Regions from separate parts of the Homo sapiens genome. Here all the other regions are linked to region 3. Evidence: promoter capture Hi-C in 16 types of primary human blood cells and fetal thymus (Javierre and others, 2016). All regions are on one chromosome and are shown on one strand. Each heading gives the region's core, a stretch centred on a gene start or on the middle of the fragment in contact. The rest is flanking DNA. Distances are from core to core; before and after follow the strand shown.

Evidence for each region. The method cuts DNA at HindIII sites, captures the fragments that hold promoters and counts their contacts. A CHiCAGO score of 5 or more calls a contact.
Region 1: a contact is called between a fragment that was not itself captured here and the fragment with the promoter of NRIP1 in region 3, in 2 of 17 cell types (M0 macrophages and erythroblasts). The highest score is 6.4, in M0 macrophages.
Region 2: a contact is called between a fragment that was not itself captured here and the fragment with the promoter of NRIP1 in region 3, in 1 of 17 cell types (naive CD4 T cells). The highest score is 5.2, in naive CD4 T cells.
Region 4: a fragment that was not itself captured here is called in contact with the fragment with the promoter of NRIP1 in region 3 in 4 of 17 cell types (M0 macrophages, erythroblasts, M2 macrophages and 1 more); the score reaches 6.1 in M0 macrophages.
Region 5: a contact is called between a fragment that was not itself captured here and the fragment with the promoter of NRIP1 in region 3, in 1 of 17 cell types (erythroblasts). The highest score is 5.0, in erythroblasts.
Region 6: a contact is called between a fragment that was not itself captured here and the fragment with the promoter of NRIP1 in region 3, in 3 of 17 cell types (naive CD8 T cells, naive CD4 T cells and total CD4 T cells). The highest score is 10.3, in naive CD8 T cells.
Region 7: the fragment with the promoter of HSPA13 here is called in contact with the fragment with the promoter of NRIP1 in region 3 in 7 of 17 cell types (erythroblasts, naive CD4 T cells, fetal thymus and 4 more); the score reaches 8.9 in erythroblasts.

The regions. Positions count from the first base shown.
Region 1 is chr21:14,431,949-14,434,648 of GRCh38, reverse strand. No RefSeq gene overlaps it. Among named protein-coding and RNA genes, the nearest start is that of HSPA13, 50 kb to the right of the region's middle. The HindIII fragment of the contact is 3,201 bases long and covers 1-2,700 here.
Region 2 is chr21:15,781,645-15,784,344 of GRCh38, reverse strand. The region is part of intron 4 of USP25 (ubiquitin specific peptidase 25); the gene reads right to left. Among named protein-coding and RNA genes, the nearest start is that of USP25, 53 kb to the right of the region's middle. The HindIII fragment of the contact is 3,402 bases long and covers 1-2,700 here.
Region 3 is chr21:15,063,604-15,066,303 of GRCh38, reverse strand. NRIP1 (nuclear receptor interacting protein 1) reads left to right here and starts at 1,304. Exons shown (of 4, transcript NM_003489.4): 1 at 1,304-1,559. RefSeq lists an enhancer at 403-452 and silencers at 783-962, 1,213-2,072. The HindIII fragment of the contact is 10,218 bases long and covers 1-2,700 here.
Region 4 is chr21:14,398,871-14,401,570 of GRCh38, reverse strand. No RefSeq gene overlaps it. Among named protein-coding and RNA genes, the nearest start is that of HSPA13, 17 kb to the right of the region's middle. The HindIII fragment of the contact is 7,464 bases long and covers 1-2,700 here.
Region 5 is chr21:14,250,711-14,253,410 of GRCh38, reverse strand. No RefSeq gene overlaps it. Among named protein-coding and RNA genes, the nearest start is that of RBM11, 36 kb to the right of the region's middle. The HindIII fragment of the contact is 983 bases long and covers 894-1,876 here.
Region 6 is chr21:15,828,015-15,830,714 of GRCh38, reverse strand. USP25 (ubiquitin specific peptidase 25) reads right to left here. Exons shown (of 26, transcript NM_001283041.3): 15 at 114-184. Among named protein-coding and RNA genes, the nearest start is that of USP25, 99 kb to the right of the region's middle. The HindIII fragment of the contact is 1,841 bases long and covers 492-2,332 here.
Region 7 is chr21:14,381,732-14,384,431 of GRCh38, reverse strand. HSPA13 (heat shock protein family A (Hsp70) member 13) reads left to right here and starts at 1,286. Exons shown (of 5, transcript NM_006948.5): 1 at 1,286-1,337. The coding sequence starts at 1,313. LOC105369304 (a long non-coding RNA gene) reads right to left here and starts at 1,666. Exons shown (of 2, transcript XR_007067924.1): 1 at 1-1,666. RefSeq lists enhancers at 750-879, 1,270-1,579. The HindIII fragment of the contact is 7,322 bases long and covers 1-2,189 here.

The DNA of each region.
Region 1 (2,700 bases), core at 118-2,617, 630 kb after region 3:
AACAGGTTTAGATTTACAGAAAATTTTGCAAAATAGTACACAGAGTTTCCATGTACTCCAGGCTCAGTTTTTCCTGTTTGTAATATGGTACATTTGTTATGATTAATGAACCAATACAGATGCATTGTTATTCATTTATCGAAGTCCATAATTTGTTCAGATTTCCTTGGTTTTTACCTAATATCCTTTTCCTATTCCAGGAACTCATTCAGGATGCCACATTGCATTCAGCTATTATGTCTGTCTCCTTAGGCTCCTGATGCCTGTGACAGTTTCCTAGTTTTTGTTTTTACTTGATGATCTGAACACTTTTGAGGAGTAAAGTATTTTGTGGGATGTCCCTCCACTGGAATTTGTTTGATGTTCTTCTCATGATTATACTGAGGTTATTGGGCTTGGGGGAAAGGAATATTACAGAAATAAAGTGCTATTTTTGTGACAGCGTGTCAAGGGTACATACTATCAACATGAGTTATGACTATTAATGTTGACATTGATAATCACGCTCAGTTAGCTTCATCAGGCTTCTTCACCGTAAAGTTACTCATTCCCTCCATCACTTTCCATACTGCACTGTTGGAGGGAAGTCATTATGTCTACCCCCTCCATGAGAGTGGAGTGTTTACATAAATTATTTGGAATTCTTCTATATGGGAGATGTGTCCATTCTCTCCTAATTACTTATTTATTCAATCATTTATGATATTGATATTATTATATCAATATGGACTCATGGATATGGATGTTATACTTTGAAATTTTATCCTGTACTACTTTATTTTCTTGCTCAACTTATTCCACCTTTGGCCATTGGGAGCGCTTTCAGTTGACTCCTGTGTCCCTTCGACACACCTACATCAATATGGGTTTGTTTGTTTGTTTGTAAGCATTTATTTGCTTTCTGCACTAAAAAATGGTCCGGGCTCAGCTTGTACATTTTCTGCCTCAGTTTTAGAATTAATCATTTATCTAAGGAGTCCTGGTTATCATTAGTTTTTTGTGACATCATGAAAATGTGCAATATACCTTTGCAAATCCTGAACATATCATTTAACTTACAATAATACCAAATACAGTGAGATTTTTATAATTTATCATAATTATGTGAAAAGGATGATATGGCAAGGATCTGATAGTGAAGATACTGGAAACATGAAGATATCGACATTGTAGAAACAAAATGGTAATGTCTGAAGAGTTTAATCATAAAGACTTTATCAATCAGAGGATAATCAGAGAAACTATAAAGATCAGAAAACTTAAGCAATGATTCTGAATTGAAATAACAAATATATTAATAAGTATACACAAAATGCTAGTGAGAATGATTTACAATGTATAATATTAGGCTCATACACTGTCAACTGATGGGATTCCAATCTTGCTACTAGAAAACTTATAGTAAGTATCTAGAAATAAAGGAAGAAAGATAATGAGAACACTAAAAATTTCCTTAAGACCACACCAGGATAATGGGAATTATCTGCATTTACTTTTGACTCTCAAGAAAACAGCAGCAATCTTTTAAAAACAACAGTAGAATTTTAGGTCTAGAAAAGACATTAGCAGTGTTCTTGTCTAACTAATAGTTTGCTATGGCTGCCATAACAAAATACCACAGACTGGTGGATTAAACAACAGAGATATAGTTTCTCATCACCCTAAAGACTAGAAGTCCAAGATTAAGAGATTAGCAAGTTTGGTTTCTTCTGAGGCCAAAAGAGTCCTCTCTCCTTGGCTTGAGATGGTCACCTTTTCACTGTGCCATTACATGGACTTTACTCTGTGCTTGTGCATTCCTGGTGTCTCTTTATGTGTCCAAATTCCCTCTTATTACAAGGGCACTGGTCAGATTGAATTAGGGACCACCCTAACAGCCTTATTTAACTTAATCATCTATTCAAAGGCCTGTAGCCAAATACAGTTACATTCTGAGATACTGCAACACTGAAACCCTTTGACTGACATCTCCTCATTTTTTCCCCATCCTTCAGCCTCTGATAACCACTATTCAATTCTGTTTCTATGTATTCAACTCTTTTTAAATTCTAGATGTAAGTGAAACCATGTACTATTTTTCTTTCTATGTCTGGCTTGTTTCACTTAGCATAATATTCTCCAACTTCATCCATGCTGTTACAATTGGCTGAATCTCCTTCTTTAAGATTGAATAATATTCATATATATGTGTATTTTATATATGTATGAAATACACACACATACATATATGCCTATATATTTTCTTTATCTATTCATCTATGGACAGACAGTTGGATTGTTTCTATATTTTATCTATTGTGAATAAAGCTGCAACAAACATGGAGATGCAGGTATCCCTTCAACATATTGTTTTAATTTTTTTAGATGTATACCCAAAAGAGGAATTGCTGGGTCATAGGGTAGTTCTACTTCTAATTTTTTGAGGAAACTCCACTCTGTCTTCTATAATGGCTGTTCCAATTTGCCTTCCCACCAACAGTATAAAAAAGCTCCCTTTTCCTCCACACCCTTGTCAACACTTCTCTTGTCTTCTTGATATAACCATTGTAACAGGTGTGACACAGTATCTCATTGTGATTTTGATTTACATTTCCCCGATGATTAGTTATGTTGAGCACCTTTTCATATGCCTGGTGGACATTTTTACATCTTCTTTGGAGAAATGCCTATTGGGGTACTTTACCAAATTTTAATTAGATT
Region 2 (2,700 bases), core at 8-2,507, 720 kb before region 3:
AGCCTCAGCCTCCGAAAGTGCTGGCATTACAGGCGTGAGCCACCACGCCCAGCCACATCTTTATCTTTCATGTGTTCCTTAGCCACTAATTGTAGCTGTTGATATTTCTGACATTTTTAACTTTAAACCTTCATATTAGAGGACGGAAGGAATTACACAGCACCATTACAGCACTGGGGTATTCTGAATATGATTATGGATTTACCTATATTGATGAGTTTTGTATTTTCACATATTTTCATGGTATTAATCATTCTTTCATTTCCTATTATTTCCTCTAAGTGTTTTTGTAGGACCAGTCCAGTGGTGATGAATTCCATCACCTTTGCTTGTCTGGAAACGTCTCTATTTCTTTTTCTTTTCTTTATTTTTTTTGAGACGGAGTCTCGCTCTGTCGCCCAGGCTGGAGTGCAGTGGCGCGATCTCGGCTCACTGCAAGCTCCGCCTCCTGGGTTCACGCCATTCTCCTGCCTCAGCCTCCCAAGTAGCTGAGACTACCGGCACCCACCACCATGCCTGGCTAATTTTTTGTATTTTTTTTTTTTTTTTTTAGTACAGACGGGGTTTCACCATGTTAACCAAGATGGTCTCGATCTCCTGACCTCGTGATCTGCCTGCTTTGGCCTCCCAAAGTGCTGAGATTACAGGCATCAGCCACTGCGCCCGGCCCTTCTTTTTCATTTCTTAAGGATAGCACTGCCGGATATATTCTCTGCTGACAGTTTTTATTTTTATATTTTATTTTTATTTTTTCCCAGCACTGTGAATATGTCATCCCACTCTCTCCTGTCTTGTGCAGTCTCTGCTGAGAAATGTACTGACAGTCTAATGGGAATTCCCATATATGTGACGTAATGTTTTTGTCTTACAGCTTTTAGAATTGTGTACCTTTGAGAGGATTTTGAGGGGCTGAATTTTATTGGGGATCTTTTCATTCCTAGATGTCCATAACTTCCAAGACTTCCTTCCAAGAAGTGCAGAAGGACACAGGCAATCTATTTAACCAAATGGGTGGTCTATGCCTCTCTTCACTTATTCTTTCTCTGGCACTCCCATAATATGAATATAGGTTTGCTTAATGGTGTCTGATAAGTCCTATGGGCTTTCTTCATACTTTGTTATTCTTTTTTTTTTTTCTTCTTCTGAATGGGTTATTTCAAACGATCTGTCTTCAAGTTCAGAAATGTATTATTCTGCATGTTCTAGTCTGTTACTGTGGCTCTCAATTGTATTTTTTTTAATTTCATTCACTTAATTCCTCAAGCTCCAAGATTCCTGTTTTGTTCCTTTCCATAATATCTATCTTTGTTCAATTTCTCACTCAGCTAATGAATTTATTAATTTCGTTAAATTGTTGTATTCTCTTACAACTCAAAAGTTTCTTTAATGTCATTATTTTGAATTATTTTTCATGCATTTCATAAATATTCTTTTCTTTGGATTCCATTACTAAAGATGCATTGTGGTGCCAGGTTTGGGGGTGACACGTTTCCTTGCTTTTTCATGATTCTTCTGTCTCTATGTTGGTACCTGTGCATGTAATGGACAATTGCTTTTTCCAATTTTAACGAGCAGCTTTCATAGGAAGAGGTTTTTTCCTGTTGATGGGTCCTAGGGTGCTGATTGGAAATGGCGTGTGGTGGCTTTGGTTCAGGGTGGACTCAGTATTGTGGTGTCCAAACAGATTATTCAGCTGGAATCCTCACCTGCGATGTCCGTGATTATCTCAGTGACTTAGTATGCAGAAGCCCATGACTGTGGTGGCATGGTTTTTCTGGAGTTGGCACCAAGCTGGTTGCTGGTCAGGCACATGCTGATGCAGCAGGCCAGAAAGGTTGTACGACTGTCTCTCCTGAATGGCAGCAGGGTTACTGCTGGGCTGGCTATCAGGCCAGGGGTGGATGCACACAGGTCTGGAGGCTGTGCATGACTCTGGTGATGTAGGGTTGAGCTGCGGAAAGAGTGCCTCCAAACCAGCTATTGGACTAAAGGCAGGAAATTGTGGCCCGGCAGCTGTGCACAATCCTCCAGTGGTACAGGCAGACAACCTCTGGGCCAGCTATTCAAGCTGGGAGCAAGTTCACACAGGCCCACTGGCTGTATACTACTCTCTCCCTTGGGGTGGGGCCACCTCCAGGCCAGCTAGAGCCAGGGACAGATGTACACTAGCCTGGTGGCCGCATGGGGCTGCCCGGCCATGCAGGCCCACCTGCTTCCCTGGGTAATAGGGAGCCTTGTGGGTTTAGGTATCAGGGCCCCAGTTGTGCCTTTGAGCCTAGGCTCCAAGTAGCCAAGGTATTAGTGCTAGAGGCACTTGTGTGAACTTTGTGGAATGAGGGCAATGCCTCTGGGATACAGGGTGGCTACTGGCCTCCAGGTCAGGAAGCACTCCAGATGTGGGCTTGGTTTCACAGTTGTGTCATCCCTTAGCTGCTTGGATTGCAGGGGTGCAGGGTGTCAAAGAGGTTCCTGCTGTGGGGGAATGTAGCCACATGCACTTTCAGCAACTGTTCATGCTGGACTTGGGACCTGTGAGGACTGGGGAACTCTCTTGTAGCAGTGACTGCTGGCACCTGTGGTGGTGATGAGGACTGATGATTCTCCGCTTACCTTCTTCCTATAAGAAGAGGAACCCCCTGGCTTTGATTCAATCCTCGCAGGGGAGACAGTATGGCAGAGGCAGGATACTTTGGTCTCCTC
Region 3 (2,700 bases), core at 55-2,554:
TTTAGCTTTTTTGTGTCAAGCAAAAACAATTTCAGCAACAACACTCGCTTCCCCTGGTAATTTTTTTCATGGCGAATTACTAAATGCTAGATGCTCAAGTCAAAAAGAAACCTGACATCTGGGGAGGTGTTGAGGGGGTGTTAATAGTTCTAGTGAGATGTCTGGGGAGCGTTGAGGATACGATTTTTCAAACAGCAAATACAAGGATAAGGGGAAATTATGGTTTCGTATGACTCTCTCCTCCTTCCACTTTCTCGTTTCACCAATCTGTGGCCCCCCCAATTTAGAGGCGGGTTCAGTGAGATTAGGCTGCAGGAAACCGAGAGGCTCCACCGCGCTGCCGCCCCGGCCTCGTGATGTAATTGTTATTTCTTATTCGGAGACCGAACCGAGGAGAGCTGCTGAAGAAGTAGCAGCCCTGCTCCTTTTCCCTTGTCTTGTTGGGTCAGATCCTTCCCGGGGATGATGCAGATTGGCTGACAGACTCCGCTGGAGACTTCGCAGTGACAAAGCAGCCGAGGATTAACCCTGCTCCTGGGTCCTACGTCTGTCCAGGGAGCTGAGCGGGGCGCTCCTCAGGTCTCCTTCCTAGTTTTCCTCCCAGAGTCGCTCCACACGAGTGCTGGGCGCCTACTACGTGCTGGGCGTGGGGTCAAAGTGACCCAGAGTTCGCGCCCGTGCCCCCCAACATTAAAGCAGGACACACAGATTACAAGGAGATAGAAATTGGGGGTGGGTGGGTGAAAGGGGGCCCAGAGAGCGCGTGTTGTGGGGTGAAGGGGAGGAGGTAGACGCTTAAGGCAGGCGGGGACCCTGGAGCGTCTGGGGCGCCCCGGCCCCCAGGCTGTGCCCAAACGGGAGCATTCGGCCTGGGTCCCAAGAGCGCTTTCCCCGGTCCCCAGGAGGAGCTGTCCAGGCGCCTGCAGCGGTCGCGGGCGGCTGGACAGAGCTGGGAGCCCGGGGGACGGCCCGGGCGCGCCGTGCAGCCCCTCTCTCGGGGACGCGGTCCTCTCGCTGCCTCCGGGTCTTGCAGCCCCGTCTGGGACACCCGGAGAGCAGGCGAGAAGGAAATCCACGAAACAGAGGGGGTTCCGCAGCTCCTGTGAGCCGCCCGGATCCGCGCGGCTTCCTCCTGACCGGGTGACAATGGGAGGGAGGGGGAGAAAAGGGTTAAGAAACTTGGCTGAAGAGCTGAATGGCGTGGGGCGGCGAGGGGAGGGACTGGGCCGCGGCGGACTCGGCGGCGGAGGGAGGAGCGCGGCTGCGGGCGGGCGGTGAGCGAGGCGCTCAAAGTCAGCCTCGCAGACATTGCAGCAGAGCCCCGAACTCGGGAGGCGGCGGCGGAGGAGGCGGCGGCGAGGCGCAGGGACGACCCGGCCCCACGCCCGCCCGCCACCCGCGCGCGCCCGTCCGCCCGTGGCCTCGCGTCCGCCGCTGCGCCGTGAGCGCCGCTGGTCGGAGGGAAGAGCTCGCCGGGGCGCCGGGCCAGGACGGGGCGGCAGGCGCCTTCGCGGACCGAGCCTGACGGAGCCGGAGGCTGGGAGCCGCGGCGGCCTGGGGTGAGTGACGGCCGCGGCCAGGGCGCCAGGAGTAGCGGCCGCCGGCGCCGCCGGAAACGGCCCGGGAGCGCGGCCCGCGTCGGCTCTCGCTTGGCTGGCAGGGCCGCGGGGGCGTCGGGGCGGCGGGGAGGGCGCGTTTCCGGGGAAATCCTGCCTCTGCTGCCTGGTTCGAGTCTCCGGGTTCTCGCGGGGGGCCGGGGCGGCGGGCCGGCAAGTTGTGGAGTGGCCCCGGGTCGGCCCGCCCGTCCGTGCCAGTTCTGGGCAAGGGGGCGGCCGTCGCGTGGCCCCTGAGCGGGGCCGGACTCGGGGGGCCGGGTCGGGGTTGCCCCCGCTCGCTTGCCCTCTCGGTCCCGAACCCCGGGCACCGCTCGCCTCGCCGCTCTCCGTCCTGCTGTCCAGCCGGATCCTGGGCGGCGCCTTTCGCCTGGGTGCCTCCCTGCTCCTTGCTCGCTGGATACCCGGCTGGGAAAGTGAATAGGAAAAGGGACAGCTCGCCCGGCCCCCACCCGACCCCGGGCCGCTCTGCCCGCACTCGCGGTCCCCTCCCGATGGCGAGGCTCACGGACCCGAGGCCTCAGCCATCATTTTACCAGGAGCCAGGGGCCGGCCCCCATTTAGGGTGAGCCCGGTGGAAGTCCGGGAGGCTGCCTTTTCTCCCTTCTTCTGTGTCCACCTTATTACGATTGAATATTGTTTTATGAAGGTTTCCGTGGATGTATTCTGCAGACCCTCCCATCCCTTCCAAAGTAGTTTCCCAATTTTGATCAGGAGTTGGTGTTCAGTCAGAAGGAACAAAGGAACCAACTGTGTCTTAGAGGCGGACAGGCTGGGAGTCTGTGACACATGTTGATCTCTGAAGCATTCCAGGAGTTTCTACCTTTTATCACGTCAATAATTGGCTGCTGAAGGTAGTAAAAGAAGTACGGAATGATAAGCACTTTTGCGTTTTAAAAATATTTTTTAATGGCACATTTTACTTTGGGGAAAAAAGACGTTCTTAGGCACAAGGATTTTTAAAAACCCAGTTGGTGGAACTGAGTTGGAGTTTGTTTCTGGTATTGTAAATGATTACATGTGGGATTGTGAAGGAAATTGTGTCCTTAGAGGAAGAGAAGCCATCTGTAGGTGTCCATAGTAAAAA
Region 4 (2,700 bases), core at 109-2,608, 660 kb after region 3:
GCCCTGCAAAGAAGGGATTGTGATCCCAATTTTTGTAGCTGAGTTGCCTGAGGCTCACAAGACCTGGAGAATGTTCTCTCAGATTGTGTATTGGCATGTGAAGGCAGGTCTGTCTGGCTCCAAAGATTCTGCTTTTTGCATGATCCCACCTGGCCTATCTGGTGAGGACACCTGTCCCTGTTTCATTCTTAAGAAGCTAAATGTCAACATTGAAGGCCACTTCAAACTACATCCAAACGATTGCATGCCAAAATGTTAGTGGACTACTATGGTGAAAATGATAAGTATTGATAGAAAGATCTTGCTAGAAATTCAAATGGCAGAGTTTCAATTAATAATTTCAAAATTCATTCTCAGTATCCTAGAGTCATTATGAAGCCTGACATTGAATAATAGTTAACAACATGATAATCCTCCTGCTAGGTTTTTGTTTTATATTTGTTTGTTTTAATTACTTCTTTGTTTGAAGGATATAATTCAAGCTACTCTACATTCTGGCCTACTTTTTAAATGCTCTTGACATAAATAACTGACATAGAGATTTTACTAGGCTGCCTCTCTCATTTTGGCATGGCTTTTCACTACTATTGATTAGTATATCCTTATCTGGAAAACAAATCATCTCTGGTTTATAGCTTCTAAATAAGAGAGAAAGAAAGTTAAGGGCTGTTCACTATTTAGCTGTAAAGTTCTTTCCAGTTCTGCAATAATGTACAGTAGAGAGGAAATGACAGAAGTTAAGGTGTTCAGTCACTTTCACCTACCCTAACTCACAAGTAAAAATTGTCATTTCTGAGGTCAACAGTTAATTCAAAATATGATATTTTTGGCTCAGAGTTTTAAGTTTACAACATAAGAAATCTGGAGAACTTCTAGAATTGTATATTACATATGCAAAGCTCCCTCTCACTAGGGAAAAAAAAAGAGCTTCCATGAAACATTGTTTTTATTGCATGCTGGGCTACTGAGAATTTCAGGCAAACCTGTAAGGGACAAAAAATAAAATAAGTTTGCTAAAACTCAAAAAGAAAAAACAAAAGAATCTCCAAGAGACAGTGATGCCTTTGGAGCAAATGCCAAGATCATCACTCCAAATCCTGGGCCAGTAATGAAACAGCGAAGATAAACTCGAAAATCACAGATGTAGCCAGGGGCCTACGACAGGCTTAATATAAAGCCAGGTTGGTTGCTCAGAATCAAGTTGAATCATCTTAAAAATTTTTTTCTAAAACTGACATAAATAATAAAAGGAAGAAAAATAGTCAACACACTCATGAAGAAGAGAGAAAAAGTGAAGATCTTTGTCCTGATTAACAGCATAAACTATTATAAAAATATAATAATTAAAACAGTATTAGATCAATTGGCCAGTAAAACAAAATAGAGAGCTCAAAAACAGACTTGTGAGTATTAAAATTTAATATGTGATAGAGATAGCCATGCAAAACATTGCAGAAATTAGACTATTCACTAATAGTGTTGGCTCATAGTTATAAATATGGGGGAAAAATAGGATCCTTACAGCACACTACATGCACAAATCAGTTCCAGGTTGATTAAAGGCCCAAATATGAAAGTTAAAAAAGATAAAATAGAAGAATGTATTAATGACTCAGGGTAGGTTAGGAGATTTTAAATGATACAAAAGGTACTAATCATAAAATTGACCACATTATATAATTAAAAACTTATGTCATTTAAAGATATTACAAAGATATTTAAAAATAAGCCATAGAGACATTTGCAACATGTATAACTTGTAAAACATTAGTAACCAAAATATATAAAGAATTCCTAAAATTGGAAAGAAAAAAATTAGAAAAATGAGAAAATTTACATGAACAAGCATTTATAGAAAATAAAAAATGGAGAGTAAACTTATGAAAAATTATTTAATTTCATTAACAATTAGAAAAATGCAAATAAATATCACAAACAGATGTCATTTTACTTTCATCAGACTAGAAAATATTGACCAGCATGATAAATGCTAAGTGTTGGCAAGTATGTAGCTCAATTAAAAGTCTATGTGGCTATTGTGAATAGTGCCAATATAAAACATGGGGGTGCAGGTATTCTTTTGATGACTGATTTCCTGTCTGCTGGATAAGTACCCACTAGTGGAATTGCTGGAGCATACAATAGTTCTTTTTTTAGTTTTTTGAGAATCTTTCATACTGTTTTCCATAATGGTTATACTAATTTATATTTCCACCAACAGTGTATAAAAGTTCCACCTTCTCCTCATCTTCACCAGCACTTGTCATTTTTTGTCTTTCTAATAACGGCCATTTTACCAGAGGTGAGATGATATCTCATTGTCTTTTATTTGCATTTCCCTGATGATTAGTGATGTTGAGTATTTTTTCATATACCTGTTGTCATTTGTATGTCTTCTTTTAAGAAATGTCTATTAAGATCCTTTGCCCACTTTTTGATGGGATTATTTGTTTTTTTGTCATTGAGCTGTTTGAGTTACTTACATATTCTGGATATTAGTACATTGTTCAATGAATAATTTGCAAATAGTTTCCCAATTGTACAGGATGAATGGAATACTATTCAGCCATAAAAAATAAAATCCTATTTGCAGCAACATCAATGGAACTGGAGGTCGTTATGTTATGTGAAATAAACCAGGCACAGAAAGACACATATCACTGTTAGCACTCATCTGTGGGAGCTACCTCTTATGGAGGT
Region 5 (2,700 bases), core at 136-2,635, 810 kb after region 3:
TGTTGTTGTTTTATTTATTTAATGGAACTGGCAACTGACTTTTACTACCCATCTGTGAAATTCTGTGGACCAAAATAATCTATTTTATTCTTAATGATCAGGTGTCAGCCAGATACCTATGCACACACAAGTGTGTGATTAAAAGGAGTTTTTTTAAAAAGCTGTCCATTGTCACCTCTGAGATACATTTCAAGAAGGGTTCCCTTCCTGAGAGGGAATTCAGGGAGAAGTGCTTAGTTTTTGAAGCAGAACTTCCTATTATTTTGAATCTTGGCTTTTCACCCCTGTTTTCCAAACAATCAACAACATTCAATATCCACAGTTATAGCACACAATAGGCATTTTTGTATAAGGGATTGGTATTCAGGGTGAGCTTGGTGGGGGATGGAATATGGACACAGGTGTGCTTCACAGAGTTGATGGATGAGATACCGCCAGGCACCACATAACAACATTTCAGTCAACAACTGAACTATGTGACAGCATATACGGTGGTTGACCACATAAGATTATAATACTGCATTTTTATTGTATTTTTTTATGTTTAGATATGTTTAAATACACAGATACCACTGTGTTACAATTGCATGTGGTATTCAGGACAGTCACATGCAGTACAGGGTGGTAGCCTAGGAGCAATAAGCTATACCATATAGCCTAGGTGGGTAGTTAGTCTTTCTATCTAGGTTTGTGTAAGTACACTCTATGATGTTGGTACAACAACTAAATCACCTAATGACACATGTCTCAGAATATATCCCCACGATTAAGTGATGATGACTGTATTTTTGACAAAAAGCATCATGAGAGAAGAGCAAAGGGTCAAGGAGAGTTAATTGATCAGTCCTAACATATACTGAATGCCCCTGACTCTGTACTTTTTACTAGAAGCTTGATGTCTACAGCTTCTTGAATTATGGTTGTCAGAGTGGAGTTTGCTTACTGTGTAGTTAACTGGTTGTTACTCTCTACTGGATTTGATAAATCAGAAAAAAATTCCGCATATAAGAATTAGTTGGATTAATAGCCAAACCCTGTTTTTAAGGGTTTTGTTTGTTTGTTTGCTTTTGTTTTCTTGTTTTACGAAATCTCAAAGGAAGTACTTATGGTTAGAATGCAAGACAAGGAGTCTTTTTCTGGGATTAGTGTTTAGTTTGGCTTCATAGTTCTTAAGTCTGAAATGATTTCCTTAGCCTTCTGAAAGCCACTAAGAAGGATTGATAATTCTGTATAACCATTCTGTATTTATCAACTGCTATTTGTCTTTCAGAAAGCTGCAGGATTATAATATAACAATTCTCAGACACATGTAAAACATATATTGCTCTTCTATTTCTCACTGCAAAAATGAATTTTGTAAAGTATTTTAAACATTGGTGTCTCCATGGTAGCAGAGGAGATGATAAGTCAGAACACGAACATTGTCTTTGCATAGATAAAACTGTAGAATAAAGTAAAATGATATGTTGAACACCGAATATCTAGTTATGTCCATCATCACTGCACTCTAGGATGTGAATATAGTTGCCTTGGATTTGCTAGGAAGAATTTTAACTCACTGTTCCTGCTGTATCACATTATAGCAACTTTTCCTTCACAATCTGAATATGCTAGTTAGATAATGGACTTAAAAATTGAGGAAATGAGGTATAGTCCTCTTCTAATCCTGTTTTCTACAGGGTAAAGAAATATTAAAATAGATTCTTGCACAGATAACTGAATTAAAGGATGATATCAATTATCTGATTCAATGGATAAGCATAGGCACAGAGATATGGAGAGCTGAACATACTGTAAAATATCCTTTTGTTAACATTGCAAGCTGTTAAACCATGCTGCTTTGTTGAGTGTTCTCTCATTCTTGGGGAACAAAGCTTTGCTTTTCAGTGTTTGTACTGACAGAATGTTGGTCCATTTCCATGTGCCCTCTCATAAGTACAAATAGAACTCTTGAACAAATGTGGAATAATTATTGTGGTCTAGAGGGAAAATCATATTTACTAAGCATTTACAAGGTACTTAGGACAATCTTAGTACTTTAGCCCCAACGTGGGGATAGATCATTGTCTCCCACTTTGCATATAAAATTATGCAAATTTCATTGGTCCATGATTCTGTACTTAATATGGGATGGATATGGATTTCAGGTATTCCATTTCATGAAGAAATATTAAAGGACCTGTTATATAGGGAATTTAGAACTGCTAGAATATGGTAAGTTCTGAAAATGTTCTAAGTAACCATATAAATCAAATTAAATGTATATGTGCCTGCAATCAGATTACTTATCATTACACACTTGACTTAAGTATTAATAAACAATGAATCTTCAGGTGAGTGTTAAGAAGAATTAATACCCAGTTTATTTGATTTAAAGGTACCAAATAGCCCTCAAAAGCTATGGTGACAGGCCTGGCCAACATGGTTAAACCCCGTCTCTACTAAAAATACAAAAATTAGCCAGTCTTCATGGTGCATGCCTGTAATCTCAGCTACTCAGGAGGCTGAGGCAGGAGAATCGCTTGAACCCAGGAGGCAGAGGTTGCAGTGAGCCAAGATTGCACCACTCCGGCCTGGGTAACAGAGGAGATTGTCTCAAAAAAAAAAAAAAAAAGCTATGGTGACAGATTAGTTTACTTTCAGGATATTAGGCTGCCATTAAGTCATCAGCACTGATGTGATTTTTATGAAATGTTTATT
Region 6 (2,700 bases), core at 163-2,662, 760 kb before region 3:
CAAAATTTTAAAACAAAACATGTAAAGAAAAATTAGATTAAGATAATGTAAAGGTAAATTAAAATATATGTAAATAATTTTGACAATGATTACTAGCTCAAAATTTCACTTACTTGTATCATAGATTTGTCAGAGTACATTAATTCAATTGTTCGATGGATTCTGGATATGCTTTCCTGCAAATCTAAGGATATAAGGTGTCATTTAATGATTAACAGCAAATGTGTTTCTACTTATAAGATAAGGACTAATGTTTTTCCTACAAACATGTTAGAGGAATAGGAAAATTTTCCTAAAACTTTTCTTAAAAAACATTACCATTTGAAATCTGTAGAAAATGAATTATAGTTATTCTTAATAAAAGACACAGTACAAATGCATACTTTAAAAACAACACAAATATGATTTATCTAGAAAATGTGCAGAGCCAATAAAAGTGAATTTTGTTCAAATCTATAAAGGAGAGTTTCAATGAAAATGAAAGCTAAGCTTCCTTACATATTGCTATAACACAAGTAAACTTAAGAACAAAGTAAAACATGTTCACCACATATCTTGTACACACACATAACTGAATAAAAATCGACTATAATCACCAGTGAAAATAAAATTATGGCACTCCCATGACAATTATTTCTACTTCTAGTAGAAAATAATCCTACAAAATTGTTCAGATAGGGATGTTCACAGTCATATTGTCCACAATAATTTTTAAAAAAGAGATAACCTAAATATCTGTCAATAAGGAAACGGTTAGATTGTAACCACATCATATTGTGAAGCTGCTGAACCAATCAGGAAGAAACCTTGAAAAACTATAAAAGAAACTGGCTAACTTTAGAGTGGGGAAAGACCTGTCTTAAGCCTGTCAGAAAACTAGTAACCTTATAGGAAAAGATAAGATCCTCCCTGCCCAACACTTTAAAAAATCTACATTATAAAAAGAAAACAAAACCAACATAAAATCAAATGAAAAACTGGGAAAATAATATCTGCAGCATATGTGATATTATAGGTAAAGTGTTAATATCCACAATACATTAAACTTTCTATTAAGTAATAAGAAAAATACAAATAGCTCAATACTTAAAAAATGGGCAAATGTCACAAACAAGAAATTTACAGAACAATATAAATATCCAACTTCACTCGAAGCTAAGGGAATGCAAATCAAAACACTAAAATACCAGTTTTTCAATTGTGAAAAACTACTAAAAAGTGTCCAGGGCTAGGGAGGATACTGGGAGACAGGCTCTCTCACACAGTGGGAATGCAAACTGGTTTAATGTTTTGGAGTGACAATTTTAAAACAGTCGTCAAAATTTAAAATATACACACTCTGAACCAGAAATGGTGGACATAAGGAAACAACAGATATTGGGGCCTACATTAGGGTGGAGGGTGGGAGCAGGGTGAGGATGGAAAAACCACCTATCAGGTACTGTGCTTATTACCTGCATGATGAAATAATCTTACACCAAACCCCCAAGACATGTAATTTACCTTTATAGCAAACCTGCACATGTACCCCTGAACATAAAAAAGAACATATCCTACTTACAGAAGTGTATAAATATGTATATCGAAGACCAGCACTATTTAGGAAATATCAATATGGGAATTAAATGAATTACATCATACCCGTGTGTTGGAATATTACACAATAGTTTACAAAATAATGCTAACTGCTAACATCAATATGGATGAAAGAAAGAAAAAAAATATCCTGAGGAAAACCTTCTTTCCTGATCCATAGTATTACATATAAAAATCTTAACAGCCAGGCATGGTGGCTCACGCCTGTAATCCCAGCACTTTGGGAGGCTGAGGTGGGCGGATAACAAGGTCAAGAGATTGAGACCACCCTGGCCAACATGGTGAAACCCCATCTCTACTAAAAATACAAAAATTAGTTGGGTGTGGTGGCACACAACTGTAATCCCAGCTACTTGGGAGGCTGAGGCAGGAGAATCGCTTGAACCTGGGAGGCAGAGGCTGGAGTGAGCCCGAGTTCATGCCACTGCACTCCAGCCTGGTGACAGAGCGAGACTCCGTCTCAAAAAAGCTCTTCAAACTTAAAATGGCCAAAAGAGAACTCATCATATTTCTCTTTCCTCCCCTGAGTGGGAACCTCTTTGCCCACTGCTTTACCTTTTTTCCAAAATACATTCTATTTGGTTATTCATACCATTATGAACTGAGAGAATCATTCGATTCGTCCCTCTCTCTTACCTCTAGCCAATGACCCACATCTGTCAGTTGTCTCCAAAGAGTATTTTAAGTACATTCACTTCTTCCCTCCCTCAATGCCACTACTTAGGTGTCAAAAGCTTCCTAGCTTCCACTCCTCTGAATGTAATCTTTTAAAAACAACCTGCCATGAGGAGTAGAAAATTACCCAACGCCTAATATAGTGCTTCATCAACACTATTTGCTTGATTAATGTTTGTTAATGAGTTCAAATATTTTTAAAAATTCCCTCTTATTTGAAAAATACTAAAGAAAATCTTGACAGCTACTAATGCTGTTAGTCACCATCATACCTTATGTACTTCTTACTAAATTAGGGCCATTCTTTTTCAAATATTGTCTATAAAGAGTTAAGTTGGTCATATAATATCCAACAATCAATATTGTTCAATATAATTCCAACCATGTCACATAGTTCATTTTTTTCAAAAATCAATAAATCAGCATAAA
Region 7 (2,700 bases), core at 37-2,536, 680 kb after region 3:
AATTCTTCACTCCTTATAAGAATCTTATTGAACAGCACTCACTATAGACACACACTTTTTATATTTCGCATTATGAAATACTTAAAAATGCGCAAAAGTAGAGAGAACATTACAATGGATCCCTATCAACCAGAATTCAGCTTCCATAATCAAAATTCACATTGATAAGTCAGAAATAACCAGCAATGTATTCCCACAGCAGGCTGACGTGTTGTCAACAGGGATGGTTTGATTTATATCTAAGCTGAGAAAATGGATTCAATTCTCCAGGATCTTAGTTATCGTGAACTCTAACAGCAAAAATGACAAAACCACTCTCAGAGGAGTCATTAAGTGCTACCAGTGACCAAGATGCGAGAAAAATCCTACTTCAGACTAGAACCTGAACAGCATGTCACAAGCGTCCTAAAATGGCTGTCACGTTACAGGACTTGCCCATAAGGTCAATTTTGGCCACTTAAGACTTACTTGAAGAGAGAGCTAAGGGTTTTCTTTTTAATTTCGTTTTTGTTTTTGTTTTTAATGGCCCACGTCAGTGCTAGCAATAGAGAAAATGTGTCCCTGATCCCTTGGATAAATCGAATTGACTGAAGAATGCTTGAATTCATTTATCCCAAAACAAAGGCAGACGGCTGAGGGTCACTGGAGTTTCAGGGCTGCTCCCAGCGTTGGAGCACGGACGCCAGAGCCGACTTCCCTCAGGCCCCGCACTGCGGCAGGGACCCTTCTACGGAGGATGGCTGGGGCTCCGGGAGGCTATAGGAACGCCATCTAGAAGCTAGATCTCAGGCAAACGAACGCGCTTTAAAAGGAATTAAAACGAAAGAACACAAACTCGAATCCTGGACCTGATTAGGGGCACGACCAAAGAAAGAAATAACTAACGGTTCTCACCCTCCCTTTCATTCCCTCCCGCGGAAAGAGAAAGGCTGGAACTCCGCTTCCCAGAATGCAAAGCGCGGGGCGGGGCTAAAGAGATAGCCTGTTTTCCCTCAAGTAGGATCGCGGGACCACAGGTTTGATTATAAACGCCAGTCTCTCGCCACGGCGCTCCTCCCCCTCAGTCTCACTGGTCCTGCCGGCCGTTGCGTGGAAGGGGGACTCAGTCGTCACTGGCAGCGGTTGAATGGAGGCTCTTTGCCCCGCGCCCTCACGGTAGATGAAGTCCTTGCTTTGGTCAGAGCGATAGCTTCTCCGATTGCCTCAGAGCAAGCGGACTACATTTCCCAGGGGGCTGCGGGACTGCCGGGAGGAGTGGGGGCGGTGCCTCACGTCTGGTACAGTCATCACAAGCCTGTTCGGCGGGACTGTGATGGCCAGAGAGATGACGATCTTAGGTGGGTTCCCGGGGGTCCTTGTTGCTCTTGCGGGCGTAGAGGCGATCTGAGGATGCCAGAGTGGGCAGGGGTGGTTGACTCACCTCCTGGATCTAGCTGGAGCAGCGGAAGGGGAGTCAGAAAGGTGACTTAGAGACGGTTTTCGGCTGTTCGGAGTGGATGGGGGCGGGGACGCCTCTAGGAGGGCCCCGGCCCCTGCAGGCCAAGGTAGGATAGACGGCGACCAGCTGTGTCCATCCCAGGGACATCAGGCTTAGGGAGGCGTTCCTTTCAACAGCACCTAGGTTTTTGAATTGCCTGTTGAATTGGGGCAAGCTATGGAAGGCTGCGAGAACGTGCACCTCCAGGACCCCTTTGTGGAGGAAGGGGGAGGAGCTACATCCGGATCTGTCGGCTCAGGGATGCTGAATTTGGAGGCTTTTTCCATCACATCGGGTTTGGAATTACCTATCCCCCACCCACACACACACCCACCCCGCGTCTCCAAGGTGATGAAATGCTTCTGAAATGTTGCCTGTAGCTGGAAGTGGAAAGTGGGATTCGCACTTGGTTTTATTTCTTTGAGTTATGTGTTGATGAGGATGAGCTAACAATTAGTAACACAGAGCCCTGAAAATTCATGTTTTGGGTCATATGTAATATGAGCGGACACAGGTGTATAACACAGCCTCCTGATACCAAATACGAGATTCATTAAAAACTAAAGGGGCATCTTTCTTCGCTTATGTTTACAATCTGCGTGGCATTTGTTCCTACTCTTTTTTCTTTTTTTTTTAAATTAGTATTTGTTGGGCATCTGCTATTCCTGGTCTGGGGGATACAACAGTGAACGAAACTTGTCTTCAAGAAGCTTTCATAGATGTTGCCGTCAGGGTTGCCCACCTTTATGCTTCTTCTCCCCTAAATATTACCACTGCAAGAAGGAAGTCCCTAGTTCATACTTAAATACATAAAAAGTTAACTGTGTTCTGTTTTGAAGTGACAGTTTCATATCTAAGGAACTTTCAAAATCATTTTATCCCATTTATTCATTTCATCCTTTTGAAAGGGAAAAGGAGGTGAGATACGAGGAGAGAATTTTAGACTTATAAAATAATAAAGTTTTTCTTGTGAGAATTTTAATAATGGAGCTTTTAAAAAAAGATAATCGAAGCTTTTTATAAAGCTGTAAAATCTAAATATCAATTGATCAAGAATATTAGATTATATCTGGCTTTTGCTCCAGATAAATGTTGTTTCTTGTCAGCATCTGCACAAATATTATTGAAATATTTTTACATTTTATTACATTTATTAGAGAATGACACAAACATACAGTTATAGGGTTTTTTGTTGTTTGTGTTTACTTCATTTTAAATTTTAT